2 separate regions of the Homo sapiens genome follow, and region 2 is linked to region 1. Evidence: promoter capture Hi-C in 16 types of primary human blood cells and fetal thymus (Javierre and others, 2016). All regions are on one chromosome and are shown on one strand. Each heading gives the region's core, a stretch centred on a gene start or on the middle of the fragment in contact. The rest is flanking DNA. Distances are from core to core; before and after follow the strand shown. Region 1 holds the start of PRRC2C (proline rich coiled-coil 2C). Region 2 holds the start of FAM20B (FAM20B glycosaminoglycan xylosylkinase).

Region 1 (6,756 bases), core at 1,497-3,996:
GAGAACTTCTATTTTCGGGACAAAATTCTCCTGTTGTGAAGATAGATGACTCAAGAAAAGTCTATACATATAACTCCACTTGTTCAGAATATGTGCTCATCAAGCAACCTTCTGATAATGCCTTGGTTTCCTGAGTAGGTTTGGCTACACAGAAAATGCACTCAGCGGGGCCAGGCACAGTGGCTCACACCTGTAATCCCAGCACGTTGGGAGGCTGAGGCAGGCGAATCACATGCGGTCAGGAGTTTGAGACCAGCCTGGCCAACATGGCGAAACCCCATCTCAACCAAAAATACAAAAATTAGCTGGGCGTGGTGGCGCCTTTGTGTAATCCCAACTACTCGGGAGGCTGAGGCAGGAGAACCGCTCGAACCTGGGAGGTGAAGGTTGCAGTAAGCTGAGATTACGCCACCTGGACAACAGAGTGAGACTCCATGGGGAAAAAAAAAAAGAAAGAAGGAAGGAAGGAAGGAAGAAAAGGCAGGCAGGCAAGGAAGGAAGGAAGGGAGGGAGGGAGGGGAGGGGAAGGGAGGGAGGGAGGGAGGGGAGGGGAGAAGGAGGGAGGGAGGGGAGGGGAGGGGAGGGAAATGAGAAAATGTACTCAAGAAAAGATAGCACCTTGGGTCCATGCTGGCATACCGGAGGCTTTCTGTTTCTGGCAAAAATTAAAAGAAAAAAAGAAAAAAAAAGTATTGGCTTTGCAGTTGTTGAGTGTTCAGGTGTATAAATTAAAGCTCTTAGAAATTAATAATTTAATACATGTCTTTTTTTTTTTTTTTTTTTTTTTGAGACAGAGTCTCGCTCTCTCGCTCTGTTGCCCAGGCTGGAGTGCAGTGGCAGGATCTGTGCTCACTGCAAGCTCCGCCTCCTGGGTTCACGCCATTCTCCTGCTTCAGCCTCCTGAGTAGCTGGGACTACAGGCGCCCGCCACCACGCCCGGCTAATTTTTTTTTGTATTTTTTAGTAGAGACTGGGTTTCACCGTGTTAGCCAGGATGGTCTCGATCTCCTGACCTTGTGATCCGCCCGCCTCGGCCTCCCAAAGTGCTGGGATTACAGGCGTGAGCCACCGCGCCCGGCCATACGTGTCAGTCTTATGACCTTGGTTAATGTAATTTCATCTGATTGCTGAAGTTGTTCTCCATTGCTCAAGACAGATGATTTGGCTGGGCGTGGTGGCTCATGCCGGTAATTCCGGCACTTTGGGAGGCCAATGCGGGAGGCTTGCTTGAGCTCAGGAGTTCGAAACCAGCCCAGTCAACATAGCAAGACCTCGTCTCTACTGGCAAAAAAAAAAAAAAAAAAAAAAAAAAGCCAGGTTTTGTGGCAAGCACCTGTAGTCCCACCTACCTGGGAGGCTGAGACAGGTGGATTGCTTGAGCCTGGGAGGTTGAGGCTTCAGTGACCTGTGATTATGCCACTACACTCCAGCCTGGGCAGCAAAGTGAGACCCTGCCTCCAAAAAAACAAAGAAAGATGTTTCTGTGACCAGGACACTATAGACCAGATCCTAGAAGGTTGTAGAAATTCACTAAAGTAATGCTTCCTTGTCCTCTTGTGGATGATCAGTAGGCTTTCCCCTGGCAATGACCCTATATCAATAAAAAAACTTTTTCTTTTCTTCTTTTCTATTTTTTCGAGAAAGAGTCTCGCTGCAGCCTCAACCTCCTGTGCTCAAGTGATCCTTTTGCCTCCAGCCTCCCAGGTAGCTAGGACTATAAGCATGTGCCACTATGCCTAGCTAGCTTTTTTTCTTTTTAATTTTTTTGCAGAGGTAGGGTCTCACTATGTTGCCCAGATTGGTCTTGAACTCCTGGTCTCAAGCAATCCTTTTGCCTTGACCTACCAAAGTATTAGTATTACAGGCATGAGCCACCAAGCAAGTCCAGACTTTTCTACTTCAAATTAATATTAGTGGGGAGGGAGGTGTTCATAATTTACCTCTCTTTATTATTTCATTTATTCTAACATTGCTACAGTGACAATTCCATGGACATACACCAGCTACTGGCGGGGAAGATCGTTCAGACCAGAAGTGGTAAGAAATCCTTGAATTTTAAATATGTCATAGGTAGTTCACAAAGAGGACAAAAGATACCATTTACTAAACATTCGCCATCTGTTCTGACATAATATTATCATCATTGTAGTCTCCCACTTCCAGATACACTCATCTGCCTATGTTACACTTGCCTAGTAAAAGCCAGCATGGGTGAATCTTACTATTCAACGGAGCTGAACACTGTGATGGAGAGATCATATAAATAAACTGAATGGCTTATCTCACATCCATAATTAGAAACTTAAAAAGTGCTCTCAGCAGCCCATGCTACTCTGTTCCTCACACTAGTTTTACTTTCACTCTCTGTGATAACTTTTCAATACACCAAGACTTCTCAGCTTGCCCCAAATTCACTGAGACATACTGGCGAACTGCTGGTTCAACCATTTACACATCCACCCACCAGACATAAGAGTGCTCATTTCACTGAGGCTTATTATCAACTTGTAAACGTGGTCAATTCAAGACTTCTTAGAAAGGTCTCAGGTCCAAGCTTTGTCCTGAAAAGATAATTCTGATTGCAGAAACTCCCTCCGTCCAGCAGGAAGCGCCAGCACCCTCTGTCGGGGTTGGGCCGCCACGGAGGCTTCACGTGATCCGGCCGTCTCTGCGCAGGAGTGTGGTCTTGCGGAGATTTGACCTACGTACTTAGCGTCATGACGTAGTACGTAGGGGCTGGCTAGCCGCCATCTTGCTTCTTTTTCTCGCTCGCTCGCTCCCCCTCGGAAAGCTGCGAAAGTGCTTTGGCGGTTTGTCCATCCGCAGCTTCGGCTTTTCCAGTCTGGTGGCCCTTCCGGCCACCCCTTTAACCCCAGCTTTCCCTCCCCCTTCTTTCGATCAGAGATCGGCGGAGACCCTCGAAGTGCGCAAACTTGACACTCACCCTGACCGGTAAGGAAAGCGAGGGTGTGGGGGCCGCGATCAAAGAGGGCCCCATCGGGAACGGCCAGAGTGCGGCCTGGGGCGTGGGAGCGCACCCAGACCCTGGCGCCCGGAGGCTAGGGGGCCGCGTGGAGAGGGCCTTGGGTCCGGGCATTTCCCTTCTGTTTGGTTACCATCATCTCTGTGTCTGGGGAAGTCGGCCTCCAGCTTGGGGAGCGGGAAACCGGAGTCAGACCCGCCCCATGTGGTCTGCAGCGGGAGTTCTGGACCGGTCTGTCTTGCTCCCACCTAGACCCCAGTCCTGGCCCTGCGAGGGGATTACGCATGTTGCCGGGTAAGCGAAGGGGGTTTCCGTCTTCCTGGACTGGCGGACGTGAAGTCTTTTTTTTTTTTTTTTTTTTTTAGTGTCGGGTATGCGTTTCCCCAAACAACTGAAGGACTCAGCCGGGGCTTTCACTGTCTACCTCTTCCTGTGTAGTGAGGGTGGGACTTGCAATGAGCAATGTATGGGAGGGTCTGGTTTAAAGACCTGGTTAGATGAGAGGCTCTTCGGGGAATCAAGACCAACCCTACTTCCGCTAGGGAAGTGCTGCCCAACTCCGGAGGAGGATTTGGGTAGTCTTTTCACACTCTAGGCCGCTCCATCCTCTAACTTGCGTGGTGAATCTCGGTAGCTCCCTGTCTTTGAGATAGCGTTGATATTGGTGGTGTCAGGGTAAAGGCCCCGTTTTAGGACTGAAGAAAAGGGCATGGGGCCACTATAGAGACATTGATAGAGTCTTCCTTCCTTTGCATGAGAGGAGTACCTTTAATTTAAAGGGATGTATGTGTGTTTTGACATTATTTGGGATCTTTTGAGGGTCTGACATGCCTGATGTTTGCTGGCTTATAAAGCTACCTGGATTTCCGCATTGGCTGGTTTTCAGCCTGGGTTCATAGATTCATACCTCGTTAGAGTACTTAGAATTGTACAGTAGGCGGCTCTGCTGTAAGATTTTCATTTGGAATGCACCAGAAGAATCGGAGGATTTTTTGATTGTTGAGTACTTAATAGCTTACTCCTGCAAATAAAAATAATAGGGTGATACTAAGCACCTACCAAGCCTAACCCCACCATTTTTCAAAACTAGATTTCACCTCCCATATTGGTAATTAAGATGCTGCTTTGACTGGAGCCATTTTTAGGTGTGTGTCACAGATGCACTGCAGCATCTTTTCTGGCTCACCCCAAATGCATTGATCCCCTAAAAAATTAGGAATAAATTGAACTTGAATTTTGTCTTTAGCATGTAGTCAAATAGTAATTCTCTCCTTTTCTGTAAGTGGATTTTCAGAATATAGCCTTTTTAAGTGATTGTGTTTGCTCTGCTTAGCTTATGTGTGGCTGTTCTCCATTAGGTGACCTTTTGCTATACACTGAGCACAGTAATAAGTCCTTTTCATACATTTTTTTTTTAATCTCCACAACAGACCTTTGAGAAAAGTGCTATTAAGATCATCCCCATTTTACAGATGAGGAAATGAAATCTGAGAGAGTAGTCTGACCAAGGTCACATAGCAGTTATTGGTGGTATTGTGTAGGTTCAATTCCATACTGTCTGAACCCAAAGGGGATGCTCTAAACCTTCAACCTGCTTTTTAAATTATAAACTACAGTAACTAAATAAGATAAAGCATTATTAACTAGTAGTTTTTCTTTAGCTTGACTAGTATATGAATATTGTTGCATGCTAAGGTTAAAGTTTTGAAAGTTGTAAAAATGGAATATATCCACTTTGGACTTGGGGTAGAGGCTAATTTTTTTGTGTCCTTTTCTATTTGAGTGCTTAGAGATAACTTAAAACTAACTCTACCATGTCGTAGATATAATTTTTAAATTTAGGCGTCTGATCTATATTATTGGTAGAATATTCCCTCATCTGTAAAATGGTGATGATAATAGGACTTCCCTCAGAGGCTTTTATAGGAGTAAAAAAAGATAATGGATAATGTATGTAAAGGGCTTATTACTATGCTTAGTGCATAGTAAAAGGTCAACTAATAGTGGAGGGAGAATGGTAGGATATTGGTAGAAGAAAATACTCTCTTCCAAGCAATAAATAATCTGTAAATTCTCAGGGTGATGTATATATTTCTTTAGGTACATAAGAAAATTTCACCTCCCCTTATCCCTGATATGTCTACTTATATGCAGGATTTTGCTTCTTAGCGATTTCTTTATGCTCTACAGTAAATATCCCTGGGATGAGTATCTTGTTCATAGCTGAAAATGCAGAAGTTCTGGCTCATTCCAGCCCCCTCTCTTCTTCTTACCCCCACCCCACCCTCTTTAGTGATAAAATGTCTTTGAAGATTATATTATATCCCTGTCTGCCTCCAAGTGCCACCCCTAAACACTACTTCAGTTTGTTAGTTAGGTAACTTGTGTTTTGGATGCTATTTATGTCATATTTGTAAATGACAAGAATTGATCATTGGTAAAATGTTACATAAGTTAGTACAGAATTGTATTCTTACAGTGAAGGACATACAAAAATTGTGTCTGAGTTATGACACACTTTCATTTCGGTAAATCGTGATTTTGTCACCTTATGAATAGGACAACACAATGAAAGCTTATCTCAGTCTATGTTAATTGTTGCTTACAAGTCTGAGAGTTACTGTGTTAGTTTTATGAGTAATAACATTTTAAATTCCTCGCTAATCTCATCGATGCATGAGCCAGAACACCTTTGTGGATAAAAGCGTTCTATAGAGAGGGTAACTTTAGTAAATTTTCTATTTAAGAGACAGACCTAACTCTGTTGCCCTGGCTGGCCTCCAACTCCTGGGCTCAAGAGAATCTCCTGCCTCAGCCTCCCAGGTAGCTGGGACTAGAAGTGCCTACCATTGCTCCCAGCATTGCCAGTTACATTTCTAGTCCTTATTTTCCTCCAGATTATCAGAAAGCATGTTTTGGGGCCTGTGACTACATGTATTTGCTGGCAAATCCAGTCAAACAAGGACTGTTACTTAGTTTCAACCGGAAATTTTTATCTGATTGGCAGACATGATTAACTAGACTCTTAGACTGTTAACTAAGAGTCTGAACACAAGATTGTAATGAAATTATTATGTGAATTATAGTCAGTGTGATATACTCATCCCTGTGTGGTGCTGCTATGTGCTCAACATTAAGGGAAGATGGAATATCATTTGAGGAGCACGTCTAGTATTAAAAAAACTATTGGGTATTATGTATGTAGCATACTACATAGCAATATGTACTACATACTATCTGGTAATTTTTCTGTTTTCTGTGTTCTAATACTAGTTTGTTTTCCTCTACTAGACTGTTTCCATGTCCTCATCACCTTGTATGGTGGTTGGCGTATACCTAGAGTTTATATGTTATTGAATGAATGAGGGTGAGAAACACAAAAGAATAGACCCACAAGATTAACTGATAAGTATATTATTGGAGCAAAAGAAAATGCTGTCAGGTTTTTTTTCCTTTACCTCTAAGAATAGTATCACAGGTAACCTTCGAAGAGTTTGTGTTAAATAATATGCATTGTGAGATTTATTTACATCTGATTTTTAAAATTTTTAGCTTATTCAACAAAGATTGAAGATTCTTTTAATTTTGTAAGGCCCAGTGAATCAGAGCAATATGGCATTTGGTCCACTCCCAAGGTGTTCACAGCCTTAAGGATTAATGTTAAAAGTTATCTTGTAGTCTTTGGATTCATGCCAGAAGATAAAAAGGTGTATAAGAAGGTAAGGGAAATTTGGTACAGAAAATTACAGATAGTACAGATTGAGTTCCTAGTT
Region 2 (6,474 bases), core at 998-3,497, 7.5 Mb after region 1:
CTGTCACGCAGGATCTGCTGAAGATGGCGGCTGTAAGTTCACAGAGCACTGCCTAACTTTGGTTCATATTGTTCCTCTCTTCTCCTACCTGTATTTTGCTCACCTCAATACCAGCCCACACTGTTTTCCTGGACTGTGATTCTTTCAGTGATCACAGAGTCTGTGCTGCATAATTTAAGTGTCCCTATTCCTTGCAGCTGCTTCCTGTGTGCTAGTCATGTAAACGCCCTTCTTAAATGATTGCATCCCTCACAATACTTAGAATATATTGACTGTTGATTGGTTGGAAAATAATCCCGTACAGGCGGAGGGGGCAGAAACTGACATCATGGAGTGTCAGGCACGGTGCTGGTGCTATGCATACACTCAACAAGGGCCTGGGTAATGCAACATGGAGAAGGGAAAACTGGGGGGCAGAACAATTTTGTCGTCTGAAAGCCTTTCACAGAGAGGCCCTGAACCCATAGCTCTCCTTCTCTGAGGACAGAAAAGGAGGAAGTGTGTCTGTCCTGCAGTATGTGGGATGGATAGATGGATGCGAAATTAAGCACTGAAGTGGGTTGCTTGGAGAGGCAATGACTGCCCCCTGCCCTCACCTGAAAATCCTTAAAGACAGAAGGGATCATCCGCCCAGGAAGCTGAGGCTGCAGGATAAGCTGGCCTTTTCCTGAACAGTGACAGTTGGAGCGTTCACCCTCACTGTCCTTGTCAGAGTTACAGGCAAGAAAGGAGAATCCTTTTGGATAAAGTGTCTTAAAGGAACTGTTGATTTACCCTTTTGCTTTATGGTCTCCTGATGTAGTGAGCAAGGTTCAGGGAGATTAGCTAACTGCAGGCAGACTGATCTTCCTGTGCAGAGAAATAAGGTAGATTCTCATTATCTTCCAGCTCATTTTCCCAAGAATTATGTATTCTCCGGCCAGAAAACGACCTCCAAACCTCCAAACCTTTTCAACTACACGCAGCAAAAAGCTAATACAATGCCTTCTGCATTTGACTGTACGTCTCCTGCAGTGATTAATGCTGCCTCCCTAACTACATTGTCCGGAGCAAGTGTCAAGCCCAATTATTTCTCTAGGATCTCCTGATAGTAAATGCTCAGCAAATATACAGACGAATAACACCTAATCATACACAATAATCTTAGAGTACTTTCCCCATACATTTCCTAACTTAATCCTTACAACAACCCTGTGAAGTTATTAACTCCCATTTTCCAGTTAAGGAAACTGATGCTCAGCAAAGTTAACTGGCACATCCAGTATCATACAGCCAGTAAGAAAGAATTCTGTTCAGTACGCCTTACTGATTAAATGAACTATGTGGCCTGAAGAAAAAGTGTCAGCTCAGTCTTTCCCCATCACGCATCTTATTCCATGGAGTAACCTGCATTATATTTCAGGGTCAGGCACACTAAGTTTGCGCTTTAGTATATGGTGAATAAATGGATGGACACAGTGGCGGCTCTGTATAAGTCAGCTGAAAGCAAACAAAGGGAAGGCAGAATCTTTCATTCACACGATTTATCCGCGCCCACTGGGTGCACTACGGTCGGGCATTGGCGACCCAGGAGCGACTGACCTGCCCTCATGGGGCTTACGGTCCTTAGCAAAAAACAGATGTAAAACAACTAATATTACAGTAAATGAATCATAATTTTGTGAGATGCTCCTGAAAGTATGTAGCAGGACGCTCCGCTCTGGTCCGAATGAAGAGCCATTTGCACTCAGTGTGGAAAGGCTAGCCTTTTTCTGGGCAAAAGAAGCGGGGGATACATTTAGATAGGCAGAAGTTCCGAGCAGAAGTCAAGGCAAATTAAAAAGGCAACAGGAGGAGGGAAAATGCTTCTCACAAACAGAACTCGACCTAGGGGACCGCAACTCTCCAGTCCTGCTGCTTGGCTGCCTACCTACCTAAGAAAAGCAGGAAAGAAAAAGAGAAGACGGGGTGGGGGATGGAGGACAAATACAGAAAAAGAAAAAAGAGCGAAGGAAGTGAGAAGTGAGAGGCCAGTTTATGTAAGCGGGCAGGGCGGCGCGGCCGGCAGGAGACCGGCGCCGGCGCCGAGGGAGTTAAGCGGACGGGCCCGGTATGGAAGAGGTTAAGGGGGGCAGTCCGGAGCGGGTCCGGTAGGGGCCGCCTACTGGGCGGGGGCGGGGCCGCGCCGAGCGAGCGCTGGGATTGGCCGTCGGGCAGGCGCTACGCTAGGACGGTACCAACAGCCGGGGGCCTCGGAGGCGGGGGGGTGGGTGTGGGACTGCCGCTCTGCGCGGCGAGAGGTGGCCTGGGAATGGCCGGGCCGGGGGTGGGCCGGAGCCGCTGTGGCGGCGGCGGCGGCTGGGGGCGGTGAGCGCGGCGTGGGGCTGCCCCTCCCCGGAGGCGGCGGGGGCGGCCGGGGCCGCGCCGCACCGCACCGCGCGGGCGGCCATGGAGCGAGCCTAGGGCCCGACAGGTGAGTGGCGCGGGGGCGGGGGAGGGCGCGCGACCCCCGCCCCCGGCGCGGCGGGCGGGAAAATGCGGACCGGCACGCGGGCGGGGCACGGTACGTAGCGCGCGCCGGGCTGGGGCCGCCTGGGGGCGGGGCGCCTCCCTGAGGGGCCGGGCACCGGGTGCCCTGAGCCGTCCCCGAGTGGCTGCGGGCGGGTCCCGGGCGAGGGCCCGAGGCTTCCTGGGAGACCCGCTCGGGCCGCGTGTCCCTGTGTGCGGTCGCGGCTGAAGGGACGCGGCCTCGGCCGCCACGTCCCTGGCCCACCTGAGGCGCGGGCCCACCTGGGGCCGCCTCAGGCTGCCAGAGGTCCTTCTAGTGACCGTCTCTCGTCCCCTTGCGCGGTCCCCAGAGGCGATTGGCCCCGGTGCCTCTCTTGTGTTCCCCGGAGCGCCCGTTGAGGCAGCCCAGGGAGCGCGCCCTCGCGGGGTCTTTGCTGGGCCCGCCTCGTGGCCGGGAAGCGCGAGTGACCTGCAGGCCGGAGGCGGAAGGCGGGGCAACCGTGCCCGGGGCCCGCGGTCTCCTGGGGTCCTGCGCCGGGCGCTCGCAGAAGGGCACAACTTAACGAATGCTGTGTTAGCCCTCAGTGGGCTGCGCTTGAGATTTCATTTCCGGGTGTGACGGCCCCGCGATTAAGAGCGGACCGATACGTTTCCCTTAATGATGAATGTGAATAGTTGTCGAGCTGCGTCCTTGATTGTGGGTTCTGATAAGAGATTCATTCTAATCTGACTTCTGTTAACCTGCCAGTCTCCGGATAAGAAGAGAAGGGGTAGAAGGATGGATTGGAGGGAAAGTAGGGGTAACAGGGCTTGGTTAGTCTTAATGGAATTATTAGTCCTTTTAAAGACCATACCATCATTGGGATGGATAAGGAGTTTCTAATTTGGGAAAATGAGAGTTGCTTGCTATTGCGACTTGGGTCTAGTGCCAGATATCAGCATCTTCCCCACCCAGCCAGCTTCCCTCTGGAGGTTTGATTTCTCACTTGGAAGGGAAGTAGGAATGTGGGGTTTTTTTTAGCCTTTAGCCTTTAAACTGTAGGACTTTATAAATCTATAATCTGGTACAAATTACTATTGCCATTTATTAGCCACGCCTATGTTTTTTGCGTTGTAAATTCTTGCAAAAATTTCACTGGCGTTGATTTCTAAAAATCTGGTTAGAGATCTCAGTGTTCTTATGTATTACAAACATTCCTTGAGTTTATGCAGGATCTTTGAGCTAAGCTTAGAGCACTTCCTCAAATATGATTCGTTATCACGACTGTCTGAGAAACTGAGGTACAAATGGTAAAGATGCTAAATTATTTGCCCAGACTCATAGCCAATCTCAGGGAGATTTAAAATCAATGTATTCTATTAATAACTTTTCTAAAGTTTGCAAAGATGTTGGACTTTGGCCTCTCGAACCGTACAATGGAATCAGTCAGCAGGAGTCCCTTTCCCATTTGAAATTACTTATCAAAGGAGAATACAAAGGCACACACAAGTATAATTCAGACTCTCAGCCTCACTCATGATAAAGTGCAGTGATAAATATGGATACAGGTAAAAGATGATCAAGACATCTTGGAGTTCACAGCGTTTCTTTTCTGTGTGGTGAAAATGTGACATTGGTATGCTCTATTCGTTTCTCTAGAACTGGTAGGACAGTAGCTATGTTTTGGTGAATGAATGGAAACTAGAAAACACATACACTGCTTTTCTTTTTGGTTCTTAAGATTAGAGAAAAAACACATCACTGCTTCTATCATCTTTATTTTTATAATCTTTTATATCATGGAAGTATTTTATGTTAAATTGATAATTCCTTGACTTTTAGTTCATTCCCTTGATTTCCATTTGTAGATTCCAGCCCTTTCACACAGCCTTAAAGTTTCTGCTTCTTATCTCTTCTGAATTTTAAATTCCTAAATGAAACTTTCTGTTCCTTCAGTTTTAGGGCAGACTTCAGCTTCCCACACTTTGTGTGTCTATCATTTCATTGGTGTAAAACCCTAAAATCATTTCATTAGTGTAAAACCCTAAAGCCAGATACTTCAGCTGTTGAATTGATAACTTTTTAAAATAGCTAACCACAGAGGTTGTCTTTTGGTGATTGCCACAATCTCATAACAGAAGCAGGAGGGCGTTCTTTGTATTCTGTAAGAATACATAAAAAGACAGTTGGTCGGGCGCGGTGGCTTATGCCTGTAATCCCAGCACTTTGGGAGGCCGAGGCAGGCGGATCACGAGGTCAAGAGATTGAGACCATCCTGGCCAACATGGTGAAACCCCGTCTCTACTAAAAATACAAAAATTAGCTGTGCATGGTGGTGCACGCCTGTAGTCCCAGCTACTCAGGAGGCTGAGGCAGGAGAATCGCTTGAACCCAGGAGGCAGAGGTTGCAGTGAGCTGAGATTGCACCACTGCACTCCAGACTGCTGACAGTGAGACTCCGTCTCAAAAAACAAACAAACAAACAACAACAACAACAGAAGGAGACTGTCTTCTGAATCTGACTCTTAGTCCTTCTGGGACTAAGTGCCAGGTGGTTTTGTGGATTGGGATGGGGAACACAGTTACAATGAGGCCCTACAGTTTGTTGTAATTGTTACAGTAATCTGTGTATCTGTGTATTTTTCTCTCTGCACCTGACAGTGCCTGTATGTAGAAGGTGCACAATAAATATTCGTCAGTTGAATGAATAAATGGAAAACAGTATGAGGGAAGGGGAAATATTCTAATGTATATACTAAATTATTTAGTTCCTCTTTTTGTCAAAAGAAAAAAAAAGCGTAGAAAATGTGTTTCGGATTACTGTTCAAAATATTCTGTAGAGGTGTGTTATTTGCTTCTGTGATTATATGGTGTTCTAAACCACCTGGAGCCTGGCAGTAGCCTGTGCAGGTTCCAGTCAAGTGCAGCTTCACAACCTTGCTCCTACAGTCTGTTCTGGCTAGGCTAATTGGGCAGTTGGATTGATAGCCAGTGTTTTTGCATTAATAGAAGAACTTAGAGCTCTTGGCAATGGCCATGTCAATAGCATTGACCTGACTGCCCTTGTCCCTTATTTTGACGGTGGAAGAGGGGAGTTATCCCTTTTTAAGAGTACTTCTCCAGCAGTTCCTTCTTCTACACCTACATATATCTTCCTGTTTTCCTTCAGCTGTCTCTGTAACCCCAAGTACTAATGAATTCTTTAACATAGGCCTGGGCTGCAGAACAGAAGCTTACTTTGCTATTGAAACCAGCTTCTGACTAACTTACAATGTCAGCATGACTGCTCGAGCTGCCTAGAAGAGAAAATAATGCAAAGATCTCACTTCTGATTTGGTCTTTCTTACCAAAAACAAAAGAAGAAATGCCTAGCTTGGGATGTAAAGAATCTACATGACAGATGGGTGCGTCTGTCATCCCAGTGTGAGATAAGAGAAAAATGTAAGCTGATGCAGAAGAGACCTTGAGCTTTGGTGTGTGTTTAAGGTCTGTACTTTCTGGCAAGATAACCCCTTTAGAGAAGAGGGTGCTAACTTGGGCACGTTATAAAGGCAGGTCAAGGAATATGAAATTATGAATGTGTAAAGAGGACAGAACCAAGTACAGAGGGAGGCAGTGAAGTCTATCATTCCATGCTCTCAAATGTTAACTTTCTGCTTTATATACATAGCAATGCCTCATTTACCTAATGTTGGGGAGTAAGGTATTATATGTGAAAATTTTATTTTAGCTATACCTTTTGTGGAAAAATTTTTACAATATATGCTTTGGTTATTATTACTAGCATACTGGCAGTAGTTGAGTGAGGCTATGAGATGATCGAAAAATGTAGTTTGTTGTCCACTGTGCTTTTTGAATTATTGAATCTACTTGAGTCGATTCAGTAGTCAGTCTTTGTCTTCTTTCAGTGGTGGAAAGCTGCTCTTTTGCTGCTGTTAGTATCCTTGCTGCCCTCTTTTAAATTTGCAGCTTCTTATCTGTGGAGTAGGAGCTTCCTGACATTGAAT

The links. The method cuts DNA at HindIII sites, captures the fragments that hold promoters and counts their contacts. A CHiCAGO score of 5 or more calls a contact.
Region 2: a contact is called between the fragment with the promoter of FAM20B here and the fragment with the promoter of PRRC2C in region 1, in 1 of 17 cell types (total CD4 T cells). The highest score is 8.1, in total CD4 T cells.

What each region holds. Positions count from the first base shown.
Region 1 is chr1:171,482,784-171,489,539 of GRCh38, forward strand. PRRC2C (proline rich coiled-coil 2C) reads left to right here and starts at 2,747. Exons shown (of 35, transcript NM_001387844.1): 1 at 2,747-2,952. RefSeq lists enhancers at 2,336-2,645, 2,552-3,300. The HindIII fragment of the contact is 3,004 bases long and covers 2,553-5,556 here.
Region 2 is chr1:179,023,647-179,030,120 of GRCh38, forward strand. It overlaps FAM20B (FAM20B glycosaminoglycan xylosylkinase), which reads left to right and starts at 2,248. Exons shown (of 8, transcript NM_014864.4): 1 at 2,248-2,452. RefSeq lists silencers at 2,065-2,254, 2,295-3,034, 5,728-6,022 and an enhancer at 5,084-5,959. The HindIII fragment of the contact is 5,476 bases long and covers 1-3,712 here.